Regions from separate parts of the Homo sapiens genome. Here region 1 is linked to region 2. Evidence: promoter capture Hi-C in human tissues and cell types (Jung and others, 2019). All regions are on one chromosome and are shown on one strand. Each heading gives the region's core, a stretch centred on a gene start or on the middle of the fragment in contact. The rest is flanking DNA. Distances are from core to core; before and after follow the strand shown. Region 1 overlaps DDB2 (damage specific DNA binding protein 2). Region 2 holds the start of ARFGAP2 (ARF GTPase activating protein 2).

What was found. Contacts are between HindIII fragments. The study calls those that stand out against the background at their distance.
Region 1: a contact is called between a fragment that was not itself captured here and the fragment with the promoter of ARFGAP2 in region 2, in 1 of the 25 tissues and cell types used here (thymus).

The regions. Positions count from the first base shown.
Region 1 is chr11:47,233,414-47,236,113 of GRCh38, forward strand. DDB2 (damage specific DNA binding protein 2) reads left to right here. Exons shown (of 10, transcript NM_000107.3): 5 at 1,160-1,259; 6 at 1,344-1,521; 7 at 1,857-1,999. Among named protein-coding and RNA genes, the nearest start is that of ACP2, 14 kb to the right of the region's middle. The HindIII fragment of the contact is 6,251 bases long and covers 1-2,700 here.
Region 2 is chr11:47,175,545-47,178,244 of GRCh38, forward strand. ARFGAP2 (ARF GTPase activating protein 2) reads right to left here and starts at 1,335. Exons shown (of 16, transcript NM_032389.6): 1 at 1,238-1,335; 2 at 972-1,090; 3 at 307-379. The coding sequence starts at 1,309. It overlaps PACSIN3 (protein kinase C and casein kinase substrate in neurons 3), which reads right to left. Exons shown (of 11, transcript NM_016223.5): 11 at 1,978-2,502. The coding sequence ends at 2,387. RefSeq lists enhancers at 1,083-1,312, 1,854-2,435, 2,283-2,332, 2,413-2,462 and a silencer at 1,363-1,792. The HindIII fragment of the contact is 14,797 bases long and covers 1-2,700 here.

The sequences.
Region 1 (2,700 bases), core at 160-2,659, 58 kb after region 2:
TACAGAATGCGGCCGGGTGCAGTGGCTCATGCTTGAAATCCCAGCACTTTGGGAGGCCAAGGTGGGTGGATCACCTGAGGTCAGGAGTTCGAGACCAGCCTGGCCAACATGGTGAAACCCCCATCTCTACTAACAATACAAAAAATTAGCTGGGCGTGGTGGTAGGCCCCTGTAATTCCCAGCTACTTGGGAGGCTGAAGCAAGAGAATCGCTTGAACCCAGGAGGCAGAGGTTGCAGTGAGCCGAGATGGCGCCATTGCACTCCATCCTGGGCAACAAGAGCGAAAATCTATCTCAAAAAAAAAAAAAAAAAATTACAGAATACTCGTCACTTTGATTTCCAGCTAGAGCCGTGACTCTGACTGCTCCCTGAGGAATTAAGTGAGGGTGCTGGGGTGTAACTAGCATTGGATTGGATCCTGGGCTGTCCCGCAGGGATGAGGAGTGCATGCGCACGCAAATCAGCAGGCAATTGGATAGACAAGGCTCCAGGCTACTCTTCCGCAAGAAATCTTCCTGCTTGAAGATATTCATAGGGGATGGCAAAAGGCAGTGTAGCATGGATTTGAGAGTTTGAGAGAAAAACTGTGAGCTGAGCTCTTCTGGCTGAATAGCAGGATCCCTGAAGCACCCTCCTAGTCAGCCTCCCAGTCCAGTGGTTTGAGGGACCAGAAGAGCTCCTGGTTGTGTTTTTTCCCCCAGTGTTCAGAAGGGGGCAGAAGTGCTTTTCTAGCCAGCTCTGAGGAACAGGGCCAGGCAATCCCTCTTTGGCTTGTGTCTCCTTTGGCCTAAAGGGTGAAGAGTGAAAGGAGAGAGCAGTAAAGGAGGCTTGCTCAGAACCCGGGGTGTGGGGGGCAGGCGTGCCTCAGGGCTTGCTTTATGGTATAAGCTTTGTCTGCTTCAGGGACTTTTAGGAGCTGGGGATCCTGGGCCCAGCCATAACCAGACAGATTTCTGAGCCCCATTATCCCATCCCCTCTGTCTGGACGGTAGAGCAGTCTGAATGTTCCTCACTAGGAATCCACGGCAAGACAGTTATTCATTCATTCAACAAATATTTATTGAATGCCCGCTGTGGGTTAGTCACCGGAGCGGCAACAGTGAGTAAATAGGACTATCTCTGTCCCCAAGAATCTTACAACACAGTCTCTCCCTCCAGCATCTGGTTTTGTAGCCTGGATGTGTCTGCTAGTAGCCGAATGGTGGTCACAGGAGACAACGTGGGGAACGTGATCCTGCTGAACATGGACGGCAAAGAGGTGCGTTCTCCGAGGTCCTGCCTTTCCCTCCCTCACCCCCACCTCGGTTCTGTGTCCCCACCTGAACCGAGCTCTTCTCTGCAGCTTTGGAATCTCAGAATGCACAAAAAGAAAGTGACGCATGTGGCCCTGAACCCATGCTGTGATTGGTTCCTGGCCACAGCCTCCGTAGATCAAACAGTGAAAATTTGGGACCTGCGCCAGGTTAGAGGGAAAGCCAGCTTCCTCTACTCGCTGCCGCACAGGCATCCTGTCAACGCAGGTGTGATATCCCAGACCTCATCTCTCCTGCAGACCCTGCCTGTCTGACCACTGCTGGGGTTTTCCCTCAGTGTGGAAGCCACTACGTCAAACCTTTACCCCTGATAGCGTCTGCCAAGCTGATGTCTGGGAACCTTTGTGGCTGTGGCTGTCCCCATCAGCTGCTGAGTTTCCAGAATTTTTTTGTTGTTGTTCACAGCCCAGATTCACCTCTTCCTTTCCGCTCCTGTCTAGAGAGGAGTGGGAGGGAGAGTACCCCTGCAGGAGAAGGCCTGCAAGGCCAGGACCACAGAGGGCTTGTGGTTCCTTCAGCTCAGGGGCTTTTCACTTTGCCAGCTTGTTTCAGTCCCGATGGAGCCCGGCTCCTGACCACGGACCAGAAGAGCGAGATCCGAGTTTACTCTGCTTCCCAGTGGGACTGCCCCCTGGGCCTGATCCCGCACCCTCACCGTCACTTCCAGCACCTCACACCCATCAAGGTGAGTGGCGGTGGGAAGGAGCTCGCAGAAGGAGGCTGTGATCATGAGGCCGGAGCAGGTCTGCCCACAGTGGGGAAGGGCTGATGTGGTAAGCCTGCCACCCCAGATCGCTCCTGGCCCGAGCACAGAGCATCTCTTACCCATTGGCTCTCTCTCTTCCTTTTATCCCACTTCTGCCATCCCATATGGTTGAGTTTTCTGTCTCGCTGATAAGATATTTTTCTGAGTTTTTTCAGCCCAGCTCTGATCTCACTGTGAGAATTTTCTAAGATCCTGACCCTCTGTTCTGTCTTCTCAGCTTCAGTTACCTGTGTACAGTTGACCCACAAACCTTCATTTTTTATTTTTTTATTATTTTTTTTAAGGCAGGGTCTCGCTCTGTCACCCAGGTGGGAGTACAGTGGGGCAAGCATGGTTCATTACAGCCTTGATCTCCCAGGCTCAAGCGATCCTCCTGCCTCACTTTTTTTTTTTTTGTAGAGACAGGGTATTCTTGTGTTACCCAGGCTGATCCTTTTTTTTTTTTTTTTTTTTTTTCTTGAAACGGTCTTGCTCTGTCACCCAGGCTGGAGTGCAGTGGCACAAACATAGCTCACTGCAGCCTCAACCTCCTGGGTTCAAGCAATCCTTCCGCCTTAGCCTCGGAAGTAGATTGGACTACAGGTATGCGCCACCATACCCAGCTAATTTTTTTATTTTTT
Region 2 (2,700 bases), core at 85-2,584:
GAGCACAACATCCCATACCCAGCCTCCCCATCCTTCATCCAGGGCAGGCCCACAAGACCCAATGACTGTGAAGGCTCCCAACTCCTGTGGCTTTTCCCCAAGAACACCTGCCCAGTTTAATTGGAATCTGAAACCCATTTAAGAGAAGCTGTGACCAGTTTCGAAGTTTTCAGAAAATAGCTTATGGTGGTGTTATAGAACAGAGAACCCTCTGAACAGGGAAAACGACAGGGCCTCTTAGGGAGTCGTGCAAAGTTAGTAACCAGGCAGAAGAATGGAAGGTGAGGGAAGTAGAAGGAGCTTTACCGCATTGGCATTCCCGCCGACCTGCATACACCTCAGCTGGAACCAGTTCCAGTTGGAATCCAACTCTGTGGACCTGTGTACAAGGGCTGCGTCTCACCCACTAGCAGATACCAGCAGGATTTCCCTGGCAACCCGGATACCTGTCACTTGGCCTCAGGCTGCTGTAGGCACCCAGGAAACATTAATCAGCCATCACCCCATTTCCTCCACACTACCCTGTCCATGAAAACTCTCCTCTTCGTTCATTTACTCCAAAGAGTACTAATTATGTCCCCAGATCCGAAAGGAGGTCACATTCTCAGGCACGCACGCCTGGATTTGGCTTTCCCCTAATGGATGGTCACAGTCTCACTAGAGACATACTGGTCTAACAACATATCAGCAACAACAAGGTCAATGCCTCCCTTTCCCCTCAACTAACGCTCAGAGTCTCAAGCCTGACCGTCAAAAAAGAGGAAGTTTTGGCCCAGAGGCGGAGACGGACCGCCCATGTGCCAAAGGGCCCACACAGGTGGTTCCCTCTGGCAGGAGGCTACCGGACCCTCTCGGCCCAGAGGCTTCCCACCGAATTCAGAGCGGCCCAAGTCGAGGCAGCCACTCTCCCTTGTTGCCCAGACACCCCTGGCCGGCCGGGTGGAAACACGGCAACCGCGCGGAGAGCCTACCTGATGAAGCTCAGATGGACGCCCAGGGAGCGGTGCACCCCGGAACAGTCAATGCACAAGAAAACACCGTACGTGATGCTGGCCCAACTCGGATTCTTGGCGCCGCAGTCGAAACAGGCCTGGGTGGAGGCGGCGATGAGCGAATCGTCAGGGGCCCCGAGTAAAGGCCAGGCACCGACACCCCAGAAACATAACCCACCTCCGCCCTTCTCCCTCCCTCAGGCCCCAGCGGGACGAGAGACTCCGCGCGCCCCCTGCTCACGCACCTTGTTGGTTGGAACTGCGCGAAGCCTCTTAAAAAGAGTCTGGATTTCGGTCTTGTTCGGCTCCGCCGCCATTTTCTCTCCTTCCCAGACACAACCGCGGCTGACGGGTCCCGCCGCGGGCCAATCCACGGCGGGGAGGGCGGGCTCACCAGGCCGGCCTCAGCGGTGCCTGGGCCAGCCGAGGGGTGGGGTGATTGGAGTCCGATCTGGACCAATGGGCAGCCGGCGGGACGGGGGCGGCGACGACAACCGCGGCCGCAAGAATCAACGCCGCGCCGGGCCAATCCGCAGCCGGGGCGGGGCGACGGCGCGCGGACCGGCCCAAACCTCCTCGCGCGCGTAGTACCCTTCCCCCCGCCCCTCCCACGCCGCAACCCCCAGGTGGAGTCGCCCCCACGCCGCGCAGGCTGCGGGAGGCTGGGGGCGGGGACCCCCACTCCAGCTAATTACAGATCGATGAATAAGGATTAGGCTGCCCAAACACTCCTCGTCCCTCCGGCCCGAACGGGCAGACGCATTGGCCCGCGTCTCGCCCAGCCTTCAGCCGTTCTCGGTTAACAGCAAGCCTGACAGCGAGTCCCCTCCACTCCAGATTAGTATCTCGAAGTTCCAGAGCAGGTACCAAGCAGGCAAACCCTTTTCCAACCCCGGCCCCATAACAGACGCTAGGCCTCTCTCTAGATGCCCTCTGGTGGCCTGGCAAGGGTGTCCTATCAAAAAAATGCACATGAGCCCGACAGTGGTGTTTTTGTTTTTGTGTGTGGGTGTGTGTCAAGTTTTAATACACGCTAGAACAAGCCACAAGAGGGTGCTGCTAGGCCAGAACTACACTCACCCCAAGCCCACCCCAGGAACCCCAAAGCAGAGGTCAGGAACTGAGTCCACAGCTCCTGGGGAGGCCCAGGCACCCCTGAACGCTTCTGTCACCTCTGACCTCCCATCTTGCCCTCAGCCTAGACTCGTCCCTTCCCTACCAGTCCCTTCCCTAGACAAAGGCCCCTCCCCTCCCTGGGTCCCAGGACTTCCTCCCTCAAGGGACAGAGGAGCAGCCAGAGAGCGACGGTTCAGGGCCCTGAGGGTCCGGCTCTCCAGGAGAAGCTGGGCTCTGAACCAGGGTGGGTAAACGTTGCAGAAGGGCTGTCAGGACACTCAGGCGCCCACACACTCCACGTAGTTGGCAGGGTACAGGCCAATGCGGCCACTCTGCAACTGGCCTTGGCACCAGCCCTGCTCGTCCTCCTCACTCATCTTCAGCAGCTCCTCCCCTGGGGGAAAGGGGATTGGTCACTGCCAGTGGCCCTGGCCCAGGCCCTGTTCCTGCAACTGGGTCAAGGACTGAGGGGGATGGTGTGGTCCCAGAGCCCAGCTAGCAAAGACATGGCTCAGGCAGAGGCAGGTCAAGGTCAGCAAGCTGCCCCACCCCAGACCCTGAATGCAGCCACCAGGCACCAGCTATCTGGACC